2 separate regions of the Homo sapiens genome follow, and region 1 is linked to region 2. Evidence: promoter capture Hi-C in human tissues and cell types (Jung and others, 2019). All regions are on one chromosome and are shown on one strand. Each heading gives the region's core, a stretch centred on a gene start or on the middle of the fragment in contact. The rest is flanking DNA. Distances are from core to core; before and after follow the strand shown.

Region 1 (3,193 bases), core at 1-2,500, 660 kb after region 2:
GCTAATATTTGAAACCACGGGAGCAGGAATTGCGAGGCTGACTCAAGTCATAAGGCACCTGACGGTTAACAGGGTGGGGTCCTTAAATCCGGAACCGGATCTGTGGTACCGGTTGGGTTACCTCGGGAGTCTTAGGTGGAGAGTTAGTAGGAGTTAACTCATTCTTTGGGGCTGGATGTGGAAACTCATGAGTGAGTTTGGGATATGAAGGCTCAGATCTAGAGTGAGGTGCCTTAAGGATGCGACTTAGGGACCCAGGGCTAAAGATTCGGAGAACTTAGGTTCAGTACCCCCTCACATCCCAGGCCCGAGTTCGGAACCTTTGAGCTGACCTTTGAGTCAGAGGTCAAGAGGTCAAAAAGGACACCTGGCAGGGAAAATGGCCTAGTTGTGGAGAAGGTCCTGGAACCAGAGCAACAAAAAACGTCTGTGGGTTGGAGAAGACTCAGAGATCAGAGGCCGGTGGGCGCCGCGATAACCACTGGAAAAAGGAAAGGAGTCAGGAAGTAAAGTGCACCTCCCACTCCCGGAAAATGGCGGCCCCCGCACACTGCCTTTCCCATATCACGTGGTATTACACGCAACAGTTCCCGCCCATTTTGCGATCACGTGACAGAAAACGCAGCTCTGGCGGGGGTAAGAGGCGGGACTCCAAAAAGGATTGCCTCCGGAAGACACCGCAGCGCGAGACGCGTACAGACTCGTGACCTTCACTGATTGGTCCGTAGACCCGGGCGCCACGGAAGGAGGTGGGCTTTCAGGGAGTGGGGCGGGGTTTTTCTACCTAGGCGGGAACCCAAATATCGTTTTGATTGGCAACAGCTGAGCCCAGAAACGAGACTTGCTCTGATTGGTCAAGCTACTGCGTTTCCGCGCGGCGATTGGCTGGCAGAAAGGCAGAGGCGGGGCCAGGAGAGAAAGCTTTGTGGTTTGGTCTCAGGGAAGTAGCAGGCGCCGGTTGAGAGAACTACGGCCCTGTCGGAAGGTAACCTCCGGTGCAAACGACCATCGGCGGCAGGCGAGCGGTACGCTTGGCGTCCGGGCCTTCCTGGGCCCGTCTGAGGAAACTTGCTGCTCGAGGCCAGGCTGCCTAGGACCTGTCCCTTTTTTCTATACTGGCTCCCACATCCGGGTTTTTTCTCCGGGACGGCCCTTCGGATGCTTGGGCCAATGGGAATCGCCATTTAGGGTGCTCCGCCCACCGGGTCGCGTAGAGCATCCTGGAAGTCGTAGTAAATCTCTCGAGAGTTCTCTCCGCACGCGGGCTGGAGAAGCGGGTCCTACGCACGCTTTGTTGTCGCGCTTTGCCTCCGTCCTTGCCCCTACTCCCGCCTTACCTGACTTCCTTTTCGGAGGAAGATCCTTGAGCAGCCGACGTTGGGACAAAGGATTTGGAGAAACCCAGGGCTAAAGTCACGTTTTTCCTCCTTTAAGACTTACCTCAACACTTCACTCCATGGCAGTTCCCGAGACCCGCCCTAACCACACTATTTATATCAACAACCTCAATGAGAAGATCAAGAAGGATGGTGAGTTCTCGGGATAGTCCGGAGTCCAGACTGTCCCGCACGGGCTGGCCCCTCTTCCGTCCCCTGCACCCGCCTCTCTTTCTAAGTGTTTGTCCAGCCAAACTTCGAGTTAACTCCTTGGCCTTTACACAAACTACTTCCTGTCTTCAACACTCCATTAGTTCATCTTACACTCTGCCCTTTAACGTGGTCACTGCTGCTCATCTTACAAGGTTTGAGGTCACAGGACCCTTCCTCCAGGAAGCCTTGCCTTGTCCCTTCACGTGGCTGCCGCTGACTTGCCGTACGCTGAGACCATCTCCCATCAAGCCCTGATTCCTCTGAGCTGTCGTGGGGCTCTCTCTCCTCCCAGTGGCCTTTGAACTCCGTGAGGGCAAGGACTGGGGCTTTCTTGGTCACCGGCTTTTTCAGTGATCAGCCCACAATGAACATGTACCATAATGGTGGCTAACGCTCTGTATCATGGGCTGGTCTGTGTGCTTTCATATAAATCTTGATAACATTTAATTCTCACAACAATCTTGTAGGAAGAAGGCTATTGTTATTCCCATTCGTCAACTAAGAAACTGGGGCCGGGCGCGGTGGCTCACCCCTGTAATCAATCCCAGCACTTTGGGAGGCCGAGGCGGGCGGATCACCTGAGGTCGGGAGTTCGAGACCAGCCTGACCGACATGGAGAAACCCTTTCTCTACTGAAAATACAAAATTAGCCGGGCATGGTGGCGCATGCCTATAATCCCAGCTACTCGGGAGGCTGAGGCAGGAGAATTGCTTGAACCCAGGAGACGGAGGTTGCAGTGAGCCGAGATTGCGCCATTGAACTACAGCCTGGGCAACAAGAGCGAAACTCCGTCTCAAAAAAAAAAGAAAGAAAAGAAAAAGAAACTGAGACAGGGGTGATGTGACTTGCCCAGGGTCACATAGCAAGTAAAGTGGTTGAGGCCACCCGTATAGAATTCTGCTTAGGAACCCAATTTTTGGCCGGGCGTGGTGGTTCAGGCCTGTAAGCCCAACACTTTGGGAGGCTGAGGCAGGAGGATCACTGAAACACAGGAGTTCAAGATCAGCCTAGGCGACAAAGCCAGACCTTTTCTCTACAAAAAAAAAAAAAAAAAAAAAAAAGGCTGGGCGTGGGTGGGGTGCGTCTGTGGTCCCAGCTACTTGGGAGGCTGAAGTGGGAGGATCGCTTGAGCTAGAGAGGTTGAGGCTGCAGTGAGCTATGATTGCACCACTGCACTGCTGCCTGGGCTGAGCAAGAACCTATCTGAAAAAAGGAAAAAAAAAAAGAACTCAATTATTGAAATCGGAAAGACTCTCTCACATTCTCAAGTAAATTATCACCTTTATTGAACCTCATTTTCCAGATCTAAAAACTGAGCAAAATCATAATACCTTTTTTGCATGGATGTTGGGGGAGATTAAATTAGCTAAACCTTGCAGTATTTCTTTTTTATGGTAACTGGCAGCTAGTAAAGGGCTGGATAAATGTTAGCTCTTATCACTTCAAGAAAATTATCGGGAGAACCGAAGGAGCTTGTTGGGATTCAGTTTGAGGTTACCAGTGAAGTTGCTGTTGAAGAAAGCAAAACCAGCAGCCGGGCACTGGCTCACGCCTGTAATCTCAGCACTTTGGGAGGCTGAGGTGGGCAGATCATTTGAGGTCA
Region 2 (3,373 bases), core at 705-3,204:
ACAGATCTGGGGTAATGTGGGTGAGGGAGGAAGGAGGGCAGTGTTGACTGGGGAAATGTTGGTCAAAGGATACAAAATTTCAGGAAGATAAGAGAAATAAGTTCAGGAGATCTATTACACAACAGGGTATCTCCAATTAATAACAATATTCTGTAGTCTTGAAAAATGCTAGGAGGGTGGATATTAAGTGTTCTCACCACAAAAATGATAACTATGTGAGGTAATGCATTGTTAATTAGCTAGATTTAGTCATTCCACAATGTATACATACCATAAAACTTCATGTTGCACATGATAAATACATACAATTATATCTGTCGATTTAAAAAGAAAGAATTTCTGTCCTAGATCATTTGAGCCCCTCACTCATTTTCTTAATATACAACCAGCAGTCGCAATGAATCACATATTCCCAATGCTCCTGTTCTGTAGAGAGTCAAGGGGAATGACTTAAAATGACTACACAAAAAACAACAGTTAAAACATATTAAACATTATTATATGCCTAGCACTGCTCTAAGGGGCTTTACGATATTAATTCATTCTAATGACAGAACCAATATTCCAACCCAGATACTCTGGATCCACTCCCCTATTCTTAACCACAACAGTGTACTGCCTCTCACAGTACACACACACACACACACACACACACTCACACACACACGCCTAAAACACAACTGGAGCTGCCAAACCTCAGAGAGATCTGGCAAGTATTACAAATATCATCTCATGGACTCCCTGGAAAAATCCTGGCTCTTGTTGATACCAATTTCTGTGCGGTCACTTTTCCACTACCGAATGCCTCACAGGCAATGGAGATCATCCAACCATCTCCATTCTTCCCTGTTTTGAAAAGGAGGTCTGTAAAGACCAACTGATGTCTAGTGTGTGATTCCACCTAAACACTAATCTCCTCCTTCCCAAATATGGGTCTAAAATGGAGCTTTAATATTAACTACTGGAGGTGTATTTCTATACCAGCTTCGAAAAAGAGAGCGCACAGGAAGGTGTGAACGATTTGCCAAATTGTTTTGTGACTATTAAGTGGAAAGGTGAAGGAGGGGGCACGAATCAATTTGCATATCCCCCTAGTTTCACTGAAAATTTAAGGGGAAATCTCAATATTCTAAAATCAAAAACGCATGTCTTGAACAAATACAAAGCACAAACTCACCCTTGACTTTAGGTGTGCAGCAGTAACGCTCTCATCCTCCTCCAGGTCCTTCTTTTGGATAAAAATACGACTGGAGAAGGATACGGCAAGCGTGAGACTCCAGGCATTTCTTGGAGCGCAGACTAAGTTTGAAAACACCCTCCCTCCATAGCCACAATTTCCCTCACTTCACACGAAATAGGAAGGAAGTAAAAGGAAGAGGAATCGATTCAACCAGTACAACCAGTTTGGAGCTGGTTTCTGGGGACAGAGCTCTGAGGACGCTGTGGTTCTCAACATGTAGCTGCCCCCCTGGGGAACACTCGGGGGCACTTCTGCGCTTTCTTGTGTAAAGCTTCATTCTCGGCTCAATATCTGACCTCCCTACTGGGGCCATTCCTCTGCTGCAGTCCCCGCAGCTGTGAAGCGGAAAGAGGGAGGAAGCAGCAGGAGCCTAGGGGCACCGGCACAGTGTCACTCAGCAAAGTGCGCTGCGTCCACACGCCCTCCCGGGCCTGTGCATAGAACCTCACGCACACACTCACAGTCCCCTCCGTCACTCATGATCTCACAATCCCCCTCCTCTGATACCCGCGCACACACACGCCTGGGGATCCGGCAGATCCCGTCTGCACCCCCGGGTTCCTACTCTGAGCGCCTCCCCCTAGGCCACCCGCACTGTCGGGTCAGTCAGGCTGGAGCCCCAATCCGCAGAGATCTCCCGCAGCCACAGATCTCTTCCTCAGACGTGAAGACCTTACCCCGCTATGTCGTCGACCCCGGAGACCGGAAGTGGACTGGCGCGGTGGCCGCTGGGAAATACAGTCCCGAACAGAAAAAGCCTCAGAAGCCTTGAGCTGTGATCCGTTCAGGTTGATCCCAGCATACTATGGGGGCTGACCCCTAAGGGAGCCGAGCCTAGTGGATTCGTGGGAGTTCCAGCCCGCGGGGTGCACAGGTTGTTGCCATGAGCAAGGATCCCCATGTGAGAAGAGCGTTTCCCTCTCGGAGCGTCAGTATAATTTACTTTTTCTCTCCATGGAGAATGCAAATGAGCAGAACTTTTAAAGAAGAAAGAAGAATTTAAAGTAAAATTATGTCAACATGTAGGTGCTTTAACTCCTTTGTCTCAGACCCCAGCGATAGGCTTCCACTTCTCTGTGCTATTTGAAGGGGACTTAGGATAAATTTGAAAAGCTTGAACTAAAGAATTGGTTGGTTATATACTAGGAGAGGAAGTGTGGTTCACATTGGAGATTTCAGAATCAAATGTCCTGGATTCTTCGAGACAATGTTCCTGTTATCTGGAGAGAAAAACGTGATTCAGGACGACATGGAAACGGATAAAAATACACAGATAATTACTTGCCTTATCTTGAAGGATGAATAATTAACACTTTGTTAAAATAGTATAAACAAATGCAAAAAAGGGCTTGCTTTTCCTAGGAAGAGCCTGATTTCACTGTTGTAGTCTAACAATATTTAACTTTCAAAATCATTTTTCTAGTTTCCTATGCTACATAAGGAGGAAACATGTAATAATAAAGAGCAAAACGTCTTTTCATTCCAGAATTGTGACAGAAAACAAATAAGATGATTAACTCAACCATATCAATAATCACATTAAATGTAAATGGTCTAAACACCTTAATTTAAAAAGATTGTCAGATTGGATTTTTTAAAAAGTCAGACCCAAATGTGCATCAATGATAGACTGGATTAAGAAAATGTGGCACATATACACCATGGAATACTATGCAGCCATAAAAAGGATGAGTTCATGTCGTTTGTAGGGACATGGATGAAGCTGGAAACCATCATTCTGAGCAAACTATCGCAAGGACAGAAAACCAAACACCAAATGTTCTCAGTCATAGGTGAGAATTGAACAATGAGAACACTTGGACACAGGGTGGAGAACATCACACACCGGGGCCTATAGTGGGGTCGGGGGAGGGGGAAGGGATAGCATTAGAAGATATACCTAATGTAAATGACGAGTTAATGGGTGCAGCACACCAACATGGCACATGTATACATATGTAACAAACCTGCACTTTGTGCACATGTACCCTAGAACTTAAAGTATAATAAAAAAAGATAATTAAATAAATAAATAAACAAAAAGTCAGACCCAAATGGGTGCTACCTACAGGTAATATGTTAAATGAAAAGCACTAAAAGGTTAAGAGTAAAAGGATGGAAAAATATACACCA

The links. The method cuts DNA at HindIII sites, captures the fragments that hold promoters and counts their contacts. A contact is called where the count stands out against the background at its distance.
Region 1: a contact is called between the fragment with the promoter of SNRPA here and the fragment with the promoter of ZNF780A in region 2, in 1 of the 25 tissues and cell types used here (hippocampus).

Annotation. Positions count from the first base shown.
Region 1 is chr19:40,749,953-40,753,145 of GRCh38, forward strand. It overlaps SNRPA (small nuclear ribonucleoprotein polypeptide A), which reads left to right and starts at 1,251. Exons shown (of 6, transcript NM_004596.5): 1 at 1,251-1,529. The coding sequence starts at 1,457. ACTMAP (actin maturation protease) reads right to left here and starts at 525. Exons shown (of 6, transcript NM_198476.5): 1 at 1-525. RefSeq lists enhancers at 1-601, 293-532, 1,073-1,142, 1,230-1,857, 1,858-2,485 and silencers at 733-872, 1,137-1,319. The HindIII fragment of the contact is 3,030 bases long and covers 1-2,714 here.
Region 2 is chr19:40,088,989-40,092,361 of GRCh38, forward strand. ZNF780A (zinc finger protein 780A) reads right to left here and starts at 1,955. Exons shown (of 6, transcript NM_001142578.2): 1 at 1,918-1,955; 2 at 1,178-1,247. RefSeq lists an enhancer at 1,688-2,229 and a silencer at 1,777-2,106. The HindIII fragment of the contact is 2,589 bases long and covers 355-2,943 here.